Linked DNA regions of Homo sapiens: region 2 is linked to region 1. Evidence: promoter capture Hi-C in 16 types of primary human blood cells and fetal thymus (Javierre and others, 2016). All regions are on one chromosome and are shown on one strand. Each heading gives the region's core, a stretch centred on a gene start or on the middle of the fragment in contact. The rest is flanking DNA. Distances are from core to core; before and after follow the strand shown. Region 1 holds the start of COL28A1 (collagen type XXVIII alpha 1 chain). Region 2 overlaps ICA1-AS1 (ICA1 antisense RNA 1).

Evidence for each region. The method cuts DNA at HindIII sites, captures the fragments that hold promoters and counts their contacts. A CHiCAGO score of 5 or more calls a contact.
Region 2: a fragment that was not itself captured here is called in contact with the fragment with the promoter of COL28A1 in region 1 in 1 of 17 cell types (fetal thymus); the score reaches 5.2 in fetal thymus.

Annotation. Positions count from the first base shown.
Region 1 is chr7:7,532,690-7,538,253 of GRCh38, forward strand. COL28A1 (collagen type XXVIII alpha 1 chain) reads right to left here and starts at 3,184. Exons shown (of 35, transcript NM_001037763.3): 1 at 3,061-3,184; 2 at 63-223. The coding sequence starts at 186. The HindIII fragment of the contact is 1,663 bases long and covers 2,956-4,618 here.
Region 2 is chr7:8,295,269-8,300,832 of GRCh38, forward strand. The region is part of intron 3 of ICA1-AS1 (ICA1 antisense RNA 1); the gene reads left to right. Among named protein-coding and RNA genes, the nearest start is that of ICA1-AS1, 36 kb to the left of the region's middle. The HindIII fragment of the contact is 4,184 bases long and covers 1,031-5,214 here.

The DNA of each region.
Region 1 (5,564 bases), core at 1,934-4,433:
AAAATTCACATAAGTATTTTTAACAGGCTAAACTTAAAAACAAACAATTTTTTTTTTTTTACCCTGGACATCACTTTTCCTTGCAAGCAAATTTGATTTTGGTCCTTTCTTTCTTTGTCCGGATACTGTTTGACTCGTAAACGCTGACAAAAGCAGGAGATAGAAGACAAAATATCTGTTCCACATTATGGTAGATGGTGAAAAATCATCTGTCTTGTAGCACCTTTAATAGAAAAGTCAGTTACAAATACTTTAATAAAATATGGTGTTTGTTATTTTTAAATTTCAAGCCAGCAGGGTTGAAAACTGGCATGTGACTGGAAAAAAGAGGTTTTCATTCATATTTCTAGAAAAATATTCACATTGAGATTTTGAAAGATTTCAATCCAAATAAATCATGGCACCATGACCAAACATTTATTAGTGAATATTTCTATATATTCAAAGAACTATATTTAAGTATTCTTAATTCCGCATTGTATTTTGAGGAGCATAGAGTTGGGAGAGCCATTTAAAAACATTTCAATCCCGCTCTATATGATTACTGTGGTTCAATCACAGGGTCTGCTTTGACATTTCCAAATTCTTCAGGGGGAATTCAGATTGCTATATGGTCATTTCATTCACTTTCATTATAACTGATTCCTGACAAATCTAGTATTTTGTAGAACTGTAGACAACCACCACCCTTTCAGGCTTAATACTACACACATAACTTCAGTGAGTTCAGAGGTCAAGGTAAAAATTAAACGACCCTTCTGTTTCCATAGAACCCCATCTCTCTTTTCTACCCTAGCTTTGGAAACTTTGTCTCCACCAGGGGTTCAAAGCTGCATATGCAATGAATCAAAAGAGTATGAGAGCAAAAATAATAGATTTGCTTAAAAGCAACACTCTTCTTCCAGTGATGGCTAAAAGAACTAATGGACAGAAACGGGACTTAAAGCCAAGAAGCACCCCCTCTGAATAGCCCCGTGAAACTATTTTTCTGGGTGGATTAACAACGAAAAATCTAATTCTGTATTAAAATCCTCAATCTTCATCAGTCAATATGCCTAGCTACACACCAACTGACTCTTAAACTGACAGATTTCCCTGGGAGGAGAAGACTCATGTGTTGCTGCCTCAGTATACCCAAGAGAATGGGAACGAGAAAGCTTATTTCGAATCAATACTTAGTATGGCTTAAAAATGCTTGCCTGCTGAAACTTTATTGACTTCAGGAGTTCTGGAAAAGGAATCACATTTTCCTTCTTTGGCACCTTGCCTTTAGGGGATAAGAATCTGGGAAATCATGAGCACGATTTTTCCAGACTCTGAGTAGAGAGTGGAAATATATGCAAAGGCAGTGAGGAGTGAGATGGAGACTGACTTTTTTCATACATGCCAGATGGATAAACCCCAAAGGGAAACAAAACTGTTGGGTTAGGAGAGGACCAATGGATGGCTTCATGCCACAGTCTGCTCCTCACATAGCATCATCCAGCTGGAAGTGTATTAAAAGAACTTTGGATAGGTATGACCAAACATCTTGTGTAGCAATTGGCCAAATGCCAACTGATCCTCAGACAAGGTATACTAAAATGTAAAGACAGCTGGGTATTAAAAACAAAACAAAACCAAGAAATGTGCTAAGGAAACAGAACACACAAAGGCCATCTCTCCTCAAGTTGTCCCTTTGCTAACCAAGGAAAAAAATAAATGATGTACAACTTTAAGTCTGAAGGTTAGTGTAAAGATAAGGCTATGTGAAAAACACAGTTGTTATTGCATTTTCAAAGGGGAAAGGGAATAACACCATGGCCATGGTATTACATATGACTTTTCTCTTTGGTTGAGTTCATACCATAAGGAACATCTCAGAAGTTCTGGAAATAAGAGGCTGAGAACTGAATTCCATTGAGAACTGAGCAAGATTTTATAAGCAACATAATCAAGCAACTCTTCAAAACCCTTCATGTAAGGTTTTAGAAATACTGGCTTTAAATAAAGATTTATCTTTTCCCAAAACTAAGCACCTGCTCTTACTGTTTTCTTGGCATATAATCATGAATTTGTACCTGATCCCTGTATATATGATATTCACAAACATAACTTTTCCATTGACAATAATCCCAGTATCTCATATTTTGTTCTTATTTGCTCTGACATTGTTAATCTAGCTCTCCCAAACCAAAGTCTTGTTATTTCTTTCTGTTTCCCTATTGTAGCCAGAGGACATTTTCATACCTCTCTAGATTTGTTTCTCTAGCTTGTTAGTTCTACTGCTTCCCTGAAATATCTTTCTCGTTTATTAATTTGGCATCTTGAGAGCCCACTCATTTCTAATCACTTTTTACCATGTTTTATTTTGCCTCTGTTTTTAATAATTCTCACCTTTCTCTCTTTCTGATGTCACGTACAAGCAAAATAGGTTTCAGAGGAAACAGTGCCATTAGTTAAGTGAAAGAAATGTGAACCTCTGTGTTTACTATAGGTTACATTTTATAAATGCAGAAACAATCATAATTATTAATCAAATACCGTAGTTTTACTTTTGGCCTAAAATTTATTTGGGGTAAATATCAGGATCAGTAAATAAATCCAAGATACTTTATTTTTTATAATTTTTCAAAAATAAAATGATCTTATATCAGAGTTCACCAACTTTAGTTACAATGTTTGCATCTCAGTTTCTACACAAATAGAAAATGATTGAATAAAGACTTTATTCAAATTGACAAATTAGCCAAGTTGTAAAGTATTCTATAACTAATTCTGAATTGTAAACCCTGTTCCAAATTAAGAAAAAGATGTCCTAAAATATATTAACATCGTTGTAAAACAATTTAGAAGACTGTAAATTAAAAATCCATTTCAAAATAATTTTAAGTTTTAAATTTCTACATTTTAACAATGTTAATATTTTTCTAATAATTGATTTGAAGTAATTGCAGAGAATACAAACTATTGACAAGCTTTCTCACCTAATAATTATGTAAGTAAGTCATTTAGTCTTCCACAGTTCCTTGATGGTCCTATCTGATTTCAAGTGACTAAAATAAATCTGTTATGTCTTACCTTATAAAGTTTGTCAAACAGGAATTAAAGACTAGTTGAGTAAATGCCAACAGCAAGGACTGTGGTTGGGGGTGAAGTTAGCTATTTGATATTGTTCTGTTCTGTGGGAAATAAAAGTGTCTTTGCTTTAGGATCTTTTGCAGTCTTTTGTTCATGTTTATTCGACTAAGTCAAAGCAAGAGTGGTCAGGCATTTGGCCAGGGTGCAAGATCTGGGTGGGATCAGTAAGCAATTTAAAGGAACAGTGTCCTTTCAGAATGAGACTGTGTTTTCCAGACTATTGTAAAAACAACTTGAGAGAACTTTCTACATTTTAGGCATTGGTTGACAGCCTGCCTTTTTTTCTCATGCTATGTCCTTCTCTTTTTATTGCTACATTTCTTTGCCTGGGGGATGTGCTCTAAGATACTGGTTCTGAACATCTCTGTGAAGGAGTATAAATGACACCAGACTCAGAATCAAAGCTGTTTTTTTAAGAGAGGTAACAGTTTGATTGTTATTAAAGCTGGATGATGAGTACATAGGTGTGCATTGTTCTAGTCTTTGTATTTCTGTGATTTTTGAAATTTTTTATAATAAAAGGTATATATAATATACAGGGAAAGAGTGGTCTGAGTATAGTCATAGTTCTGCCCCTAACTTTTATGGGGGCTTCAGTTCCCCACTTATGAAATGAGAGAGTAGATTTAATCATTTATTAAGATGTGTTCGAACTGTAACATGAGAGGTTTACAGCGGTTAATATTTTGGTCTCTCTCTAGGAAAGGATCACTGTGGTTTTTCCACTCCCTGTTTCCCTATTTTCTACCTTGTGGTTATGGTCCATATTAAGTCAATGTTTATCATGTAATATATACTGCCAAGAAGCCACCTGACCCCTAGACAGCTAACAGGCAGGCTTCTCCACGGACTTCCTCTGAAATAGAGAATAGCAAGATCATCCGAGAAAGCAATACAAATGTGCATGTTACGGTTATTTAAAATGAACTTTCTTAGCCATTTTAATGTGTATGAATTTCCTTATTACAGCAATAATAGCCTCCAATTCATGGACACTTACCAGGTGCTAGGCACTGTCCTGAGTGCTTCACACACATTACCTCATTTAATCCTTCACAAGCACAACCACCTATATACAGTAAGTCCTCACTTAATGTCCTCTGTAGGTTCTGGAAACTGTGACATAAAGTGAAACAATTGATAATGAAGACAATTTTCCCAAGAGCTAATTGATATAAATAAGAGTTAAGCTCTTATGGCATATTCCTAGTCACAAAAACATCACTAAACCTCTAAATACTCAAAACACCTCTAATAATAAACATTGAAATAAATCTAAGCTATATATACATTTATGAAAGATTGATAAAAACAAGATAACTGCTTACCTGCATATTCCAGTTCAGGGTCACGGTTGACCAGATCCTGTCCCAGCAGCTGAGGATACAAGGCAGGAACCAGCCCTGGACAGGATGCAGTACTGTCAAAGGGCACTCATACACCCACCCACTCTCTCAGACAGGCACCATGTAGACACACCAATGCATCTAATGGGCAAAGCTTTGGGATGTGGGAGGAAACTCCAGGACCTGGAGAAAACCCACACAGACATGGGGAAAACATGTCAACTCCACACAGTGAGCCTGGCCCAGGAATTGAATTTTTTTTCTCATCAATGTTATAACAAAATGACATTGAACAAAATATTATTCCAGGACCCCTTGTACTTAGTAGATGTTGTAAGAATTCGAATTTTTCCAAGATGGAGGCAGAGAGAGGTTCAGTAACTTGTCCGCTGTCATACTAAAACCAGAGAATGGCAAAATGAACTTTTAACTCAGGCTGGTAAGACCTGTGAGCCTCACTTATAACAACTACTGCATCATTAAGTATCTATGCGAACGTCTGTGTTTTCACTGTCTCCTCCTCACAAAACAGGTTTCGAGGAACTGAGGAAGTTTTGTGAGGCTTTGGTAACAGAAAGAAGAAACGGTGGGTATAATGCAGAAATAACAACGGAATTTCCTAGGGAACAACCATGTATTTACCTGATAGCCTATGGGTGTTAGTCACACTTTTTACTTTTGTAAGATGAGAATCAAGAGACAAGGAAGTAGCATCTTTTCAGGTCAACTCTCTTTTTGCTGAGGCAGGTTAAAAACATGCAGAATAATAATGCCACTAAGAAGCAAACAGGTGATTCCTAGATGGGGGAAATGGACTAAAGCCCTCCTGCCTTGGAGCTGTTTTGATTAAAGTTGGTGGGAGGTTGGAGTCCAACTTAGTCATCCATTCCCTTTCATTCTCCAACATTAAATAGGGTAACTCAAACCAAAGATTTGCCACCTCTCATTCTCAAGCGTGAAAATCAGCACTAAATTAATTGGGAAGATTATGCAAAATAAAATCTTCAGTTTCATCAATCTATAAAAGACAATTAGTTTTGCACCCAGAGAAACAATGCACCACAATCTTAATCCCAACAGATGGTCTTGAATTAGTAT
Region 2 (5,564 bases), core at 1,873-4,372, 760 kb after region 1:
TCTCTTGGTCTTTGTCTTTCTTCAGGTCTTGCTCTTGCCACGTACTGTTTCTTGTTTTGAGATTTGTATTTGTAGTGGGGGAAAACAATACGGAGAGTTTTTATGGAGTGGAGGAACTTCCAAGATACAGTATGTAGTATTTTTAGGAAATGGAAATCTATTAGATGCTTTCTCCCTGAGAAGGTAGTAAAAGTTGTGAGAATGAGAAGGAAGAGATGGTAATGCAAAAGAAACACTTGTTGGAATATTCTAGTGAGGGTGAGGATGCAGAGGGAGTCTTTCTGGAGAGAAAATAGATTTGTGTAAATGGAAGACTACTTAATAGTCTACGGAGAGAAACCAAAAGATTAGCAACAAAGGATATTAACATTTATTATTCATGCTTATTAAAAAAAGAGAAACTAAGGAATAATCTTGGGTATACCCATTCAATGAAAAAGTCACTTGTAAATTTCAGAAACGTGAACTGCCTTCTAGGGACTACTGTTTAAATGTCACCTACCTAAAAGGAATACATTTTAATTGGACTTTGATTGGCAAGCTCGTCACTACTTCCTTTGCCTTTATGAAAAGATCTGTTCCAACTGGCAACACCCAAGAGTGCAGCATTTTAAACAGGGAAAAGGTGAGCAAACACAATTACCCGCATCTAAGTCCTGTGATACAGGCAACTGTTTTAATATAATTCGTCTTCCTAGTTGTCATTTACTAACCTAAAGAGCATTATTGGGCTGATTTAGTTAAAAAACACCACCACCACCACCAAAAAACAAAAAACAAAAACATGGATGGAAAAGGGAAAGCAATAGAAAGGGAGTCTGAAGATTCTAGATTGAGTCCTGATGTCTCTGCAAATAGCTATGAAGTAACTAGAGCTTCAATTTCATCAACTGTCTAGGTAGGATGCCCTCCAAGGTCTCTAAGATTACAAATAGTGTGAATTAGCCGACAGCGAGCTAGAGCATATTTGCTTAAGCCAATAGTGACATCTGGTGGCTGCATATACCAATGACAGATTTAGCTACCTTCAAGCTTTCCCAAAGGCTTGGTAAGTCTTGTTTTTAAAATGGCTGCCTTTTCCATTTGAAAATATACCAGTGGCCAGTTGGAAACCTAACTGTTCAGATTTGGTTTCTCTACTTTATTATTTATATCATGAGTTTTTAGATTTTTATTTTTTATTAAGTAGGTGAATGAGCAACATGTTTTTCAGAGAATGACACTTTGATAACTCTTTTCTTGTAAATGCAGTATTATAAACAGAGCTCCAAATTCCTTTGGCTCTGTCGCTACTTCTCTGAAGCAGATGTACTTCCATGCAATTGATTGGATTAGTGGAGGTGTAAATTTAAAAATAAATAAATTAATTTGTTTATCCTCTCATTTAACTCCTACTCTTGCGTCAACCTCTGTGCTAGACAGGACAGATCCAGAAATAAAAGCACACCCCTGAACTACTGAGTTCTCTGGCTTCGAACCCAGGGAACTGACAACACATCAGCTGGGATTTGAGCTCCCTTTTTGTAAATATAGACAGAGGCAGGGTAAATCTCAATCTTCATTTTGTTTGTCATAATTTCTTGGTTTCCCTTTGATGGTGGTGAGGTCCTTACCCCTGCTTTCTGAATCCTAGTTCTCTTGTCTCCCACAACTCTAATTTTTTATACATAAATGAATACATAAGCAAGTGTACTTTTATGAAATGCATACTATTTCCCTCTCACATTTAAATTCTCAATTTGTGATGTGTAGAATCTTAATATTTCCTTTAGTGCAGAGTGACCGGCACCTCCAGTTTAATCCTTCTCCAAAATGGTTAACTCAGAATTCTCACCATTCCCAGTCTCGGTCTCCACCATGGTGCTTTAATTCTCTTTTTTTCAATACTATTTAAAAGTATCATCATTGGCCGGGTGTGGTGGCTCACGCCTGCAATCCCAGCACTTTGGGAGGCCGAGGCAGGCAGCCACCTGAGGTCAGGAGTTTGAGACCAGCCTGGCCAACATGGTGAAACCCCATCTCTGTTAAAAGTAAATAAATAAATAAATAAAAATACAAAAATTAGCCGGGCGTGGTGGCACACACCTGTAATCTCAGCTACTTAGCAGGCTGAGCCAAGAGAATTGCTTGAACCTGGGAGGCAGAGGTTGCAATGAGTAGAGATTGTGCCACTCACTCCAGACTGGGCGAAAGAGTGAGACTCCGTCTCAAAAAAAAAAAAAAATTATCATCATTATTATCTTGTCTGTTCCTGGTTCTTTCCTTACTATGTAAGAGAAGCAACCCAAGTCGCAGTGCATTTAAATGCTTTTCCTAAGGCTCTAGTAAGGGCAGTTAGAAATGGAAGCCGGAACTTTAGATGGTCTGGAGCGTGGTCTGGAGTCTTTACAACACACCCAAACTATCCGCACACATGGAAGGGTGAGAACCTCCCTATCCAATTCCTTTGCATCAGCTCCTCCTTCCTTTATTGTCTATGGCTTCTGGGACGATTGTGAATAAGAGAGTGATCCAACAACAGAATGTGGAGACAACCTCTCTCCCCTCTGTAGCTGTGTCCACTTTGGCTTTTGATACAGGGAGTAGAGTCACAGACAGGCATGTATTCACTTTAGTTTCCCTAGGAACGCAGACAGGTGGTTCAGACAGAAATCAGAATTATTTATACATGACTGTAGGAAAATATTTATTCAGGGAACTCTGACCATTTTATGCTTGAATCATTTATATTCTCTACTATTTAGAGCTGCAGTTGGCCTTGCTATCATTTATTTATTTGTACATTGAGTCAGTGAAGATAAATTTTCTTAATTTTTTTTTCCTTTTTTTTTATTTTATTTATTTATTTATTTTTATTATTATACTTTAAGTTTTAGGGTACATGTGCACATTGTGCAGGTTAGTTACATATGTATACATGTGCCATGCTGGTGCGCTGCACCCACTAACTCGTCATCTAGCATTAGGTATATCTCCCAATGCTATCCCTCCCCCCTCCCCCAACCCCACAACAGTCCCCAGAGTGTGATGTTCCCCTTCCTGTGTCCATGTGATCTCATTGTTCAATTCCCACCTATGAGTGAGAATATGCGGTGTTTGGTTTTTTGTTCTTGCGATAGTTTACTGAGAATGATGGTTTCCAATTTCATCCATGTCCCTACAAAGGACATGAACTCATCATTTTTTATGGCTGCATAGTATTCCATGGTATATATGTGCCACATTTTCTTAATCCAGTCTATCATTGTTGGACATTTGGGTTGGTTCCAAGTCTTTGCTATTGTGAATAATGCCGCAGTAAACATACATGTGCATGTGTCTTTATAGCAGCATGATTTATAGTCCTTTGGGTATATACCCAGTAATGGGATGGCTGGGTCAAAAGGTATTTCTAGTTCTAGATCCATGAGGAATCGCCACACTGACTTCCACAATGGTTGAACTAGTTTACAGTCCCACCAACAGTGTAAAAGTTGTTCATATTTCTCCACATCCTCTCCAGCACCTGTTGTTTCCTGACTTTTTAATGATTGCCATTCTAACTGGTATGAGATGGTATCTCATTGTGGTTTTGATTTGCATTTTTCTGATGGCCAGTGATGGTGAGCATTTTTTCATGTGTTTTTTGGCTGCATAAATGTCTTCTTTTGAGAAGTGTCTGTTCATGTCCTTTGCCCACTTTTTGATGGGGTTGTTTGTTTTTTTCTTGTAAATTTGGGTTCACTGTAGATTCTGGATATTAGCCCTTTGTCAGATGAGTAGGTTGCGAAAATTTTCTCCCATTTTGTAGGTTGCCTGTTCACTCTGATGGTAGTTTCTTTTGCTGTGCAGAAGCTCTTTAGTTTAATTAGATCCCATTTGTCAATTTTGGCTTTGGTTGCCATTGCTTTTGGTGTTTTAGACATGAAGTCCTTGCCCATGCCTATGTCCTGAATGGTAATGCCTAGGTTTTCTTCTAGGGTTTTTATGGTTTTAGGTCTAACATTTAAGTCTTTAATCCATCTTGAATTGATTTTTGTATAAGGTGTAAGGAAGGGATCCAGTTTCAGCTTTCTACATATGGCTAGCCAGTTTTCCCAGCACCATTTATTAAATAGGGAATCCTTTCCCCATTGCTTGTTTTTCTCAGGTTTGTCAAAGATCAGATAGTTGTAGATATGCGGCGTTACTTCTGAGGGCTCTGTTCTGTTCCATTGATCTATATCTCTGTTTTGGTACCAGTACCATGCTGTTTTGGTTACTGTAGCCTTGTAGTATAGTTTGAAGTCGGGTAGTGTGATGCCTCCAGCTTTGTTCTTTTGGCTTAGGATTGACTTGGTGATGCGGGCTCTTTTTTGGTTCCATATAAACTTTAAAGTAGTTTTTTCCAATTCTGTGAAGAAAGGCATAGGTAGCTTGATGGGGATGGCATTGAATCTGTAAATTACCTTGGGCAGTATGGCCATTTTCACGATATTGATTCTTCCTACCCATGAGCATGGAATGTTCTTCCATTTGTTTGTATCCTCTTTTATTTCCTTGAGCAGCGGTTTGTAGTTCTCCTTGAAGAGGTCCTTCACATCCCTTGTAAGTTGGATTCGTAGGTATTTTTTTCTCTTTGAAGCAATTGTGAATGGGAGTTCACTCATGATTTGGCTCTCTGTTTGTCTGTTGTTGGTGTGTAGGAATGCTTGTGATTTTTGCACATTGATTTTGTATCCTGAGACTTTGCTGAAGTTGCTTATCAGCTTAAGGAGATTTTGGGCTGAGACAGTGGGGTTTTCTAGATATACAATCATGTCATCTGCAAACAGGGACAATTTGACTTCCTCTTTTCCTAATTGAATACCCTTTATTTCCTTCTCCTGCCTAATTGCCCTGGCCAGAACTTCCAACACTATGTTGAATAGGAGTGGTGCGAGAGGGCATCCCTGTCTTGTGCCAGTTTTCAAAGGGAATGCTTCCAGTTTTTGCCCATTCAGTATGATATTGGCTGTGGGTTTGTCATAGATAGCTCTTATTATTTTGAAATATGTCCCATCAATACCTAATTTATTGAGAGTTTTTAGCATGAAAGGTTGTTGAATTTTGTCAAAGGCCTTCTCTGCCTCTATTGAGATAATCATGTAGTTTTTGTCTTTGGCTCTGTTTATATGCTGGATTACATTTATTGATTTGCGTATATTGAACCAGCCTTGCATCCCAGGGATGAAGCCCACTTGATCATGGTGGATAAGCTTTTTGATGTGCTGCTGGATTCGGTTTGCCAGTAATTTATTGAGGATTTTTGCATCAATGTTCATCAAGGATATTGGTCTAAAATTCTCTTTTTTGGTTGTGTCTCTGCCCGGCTTTGGTATCAGAATGATGCTGGCCTCATAAAATGAGTTAGGGAGGATTCCCTCTTTTTCTATTGATTGGAATAGTTTCAGAAGGAATGGTACCAGTTCCTCCTTGTACCTCTGGTAGAATTTGGCTGTGAATCCATCTGGTCCTGGACTCTTTTTGGTTGGTAAGCTATTGATTATTGCCACAATTTCAGATCCTGTTATTGGTCTATTCAGAGATTCAACTTCTTCCTGGTC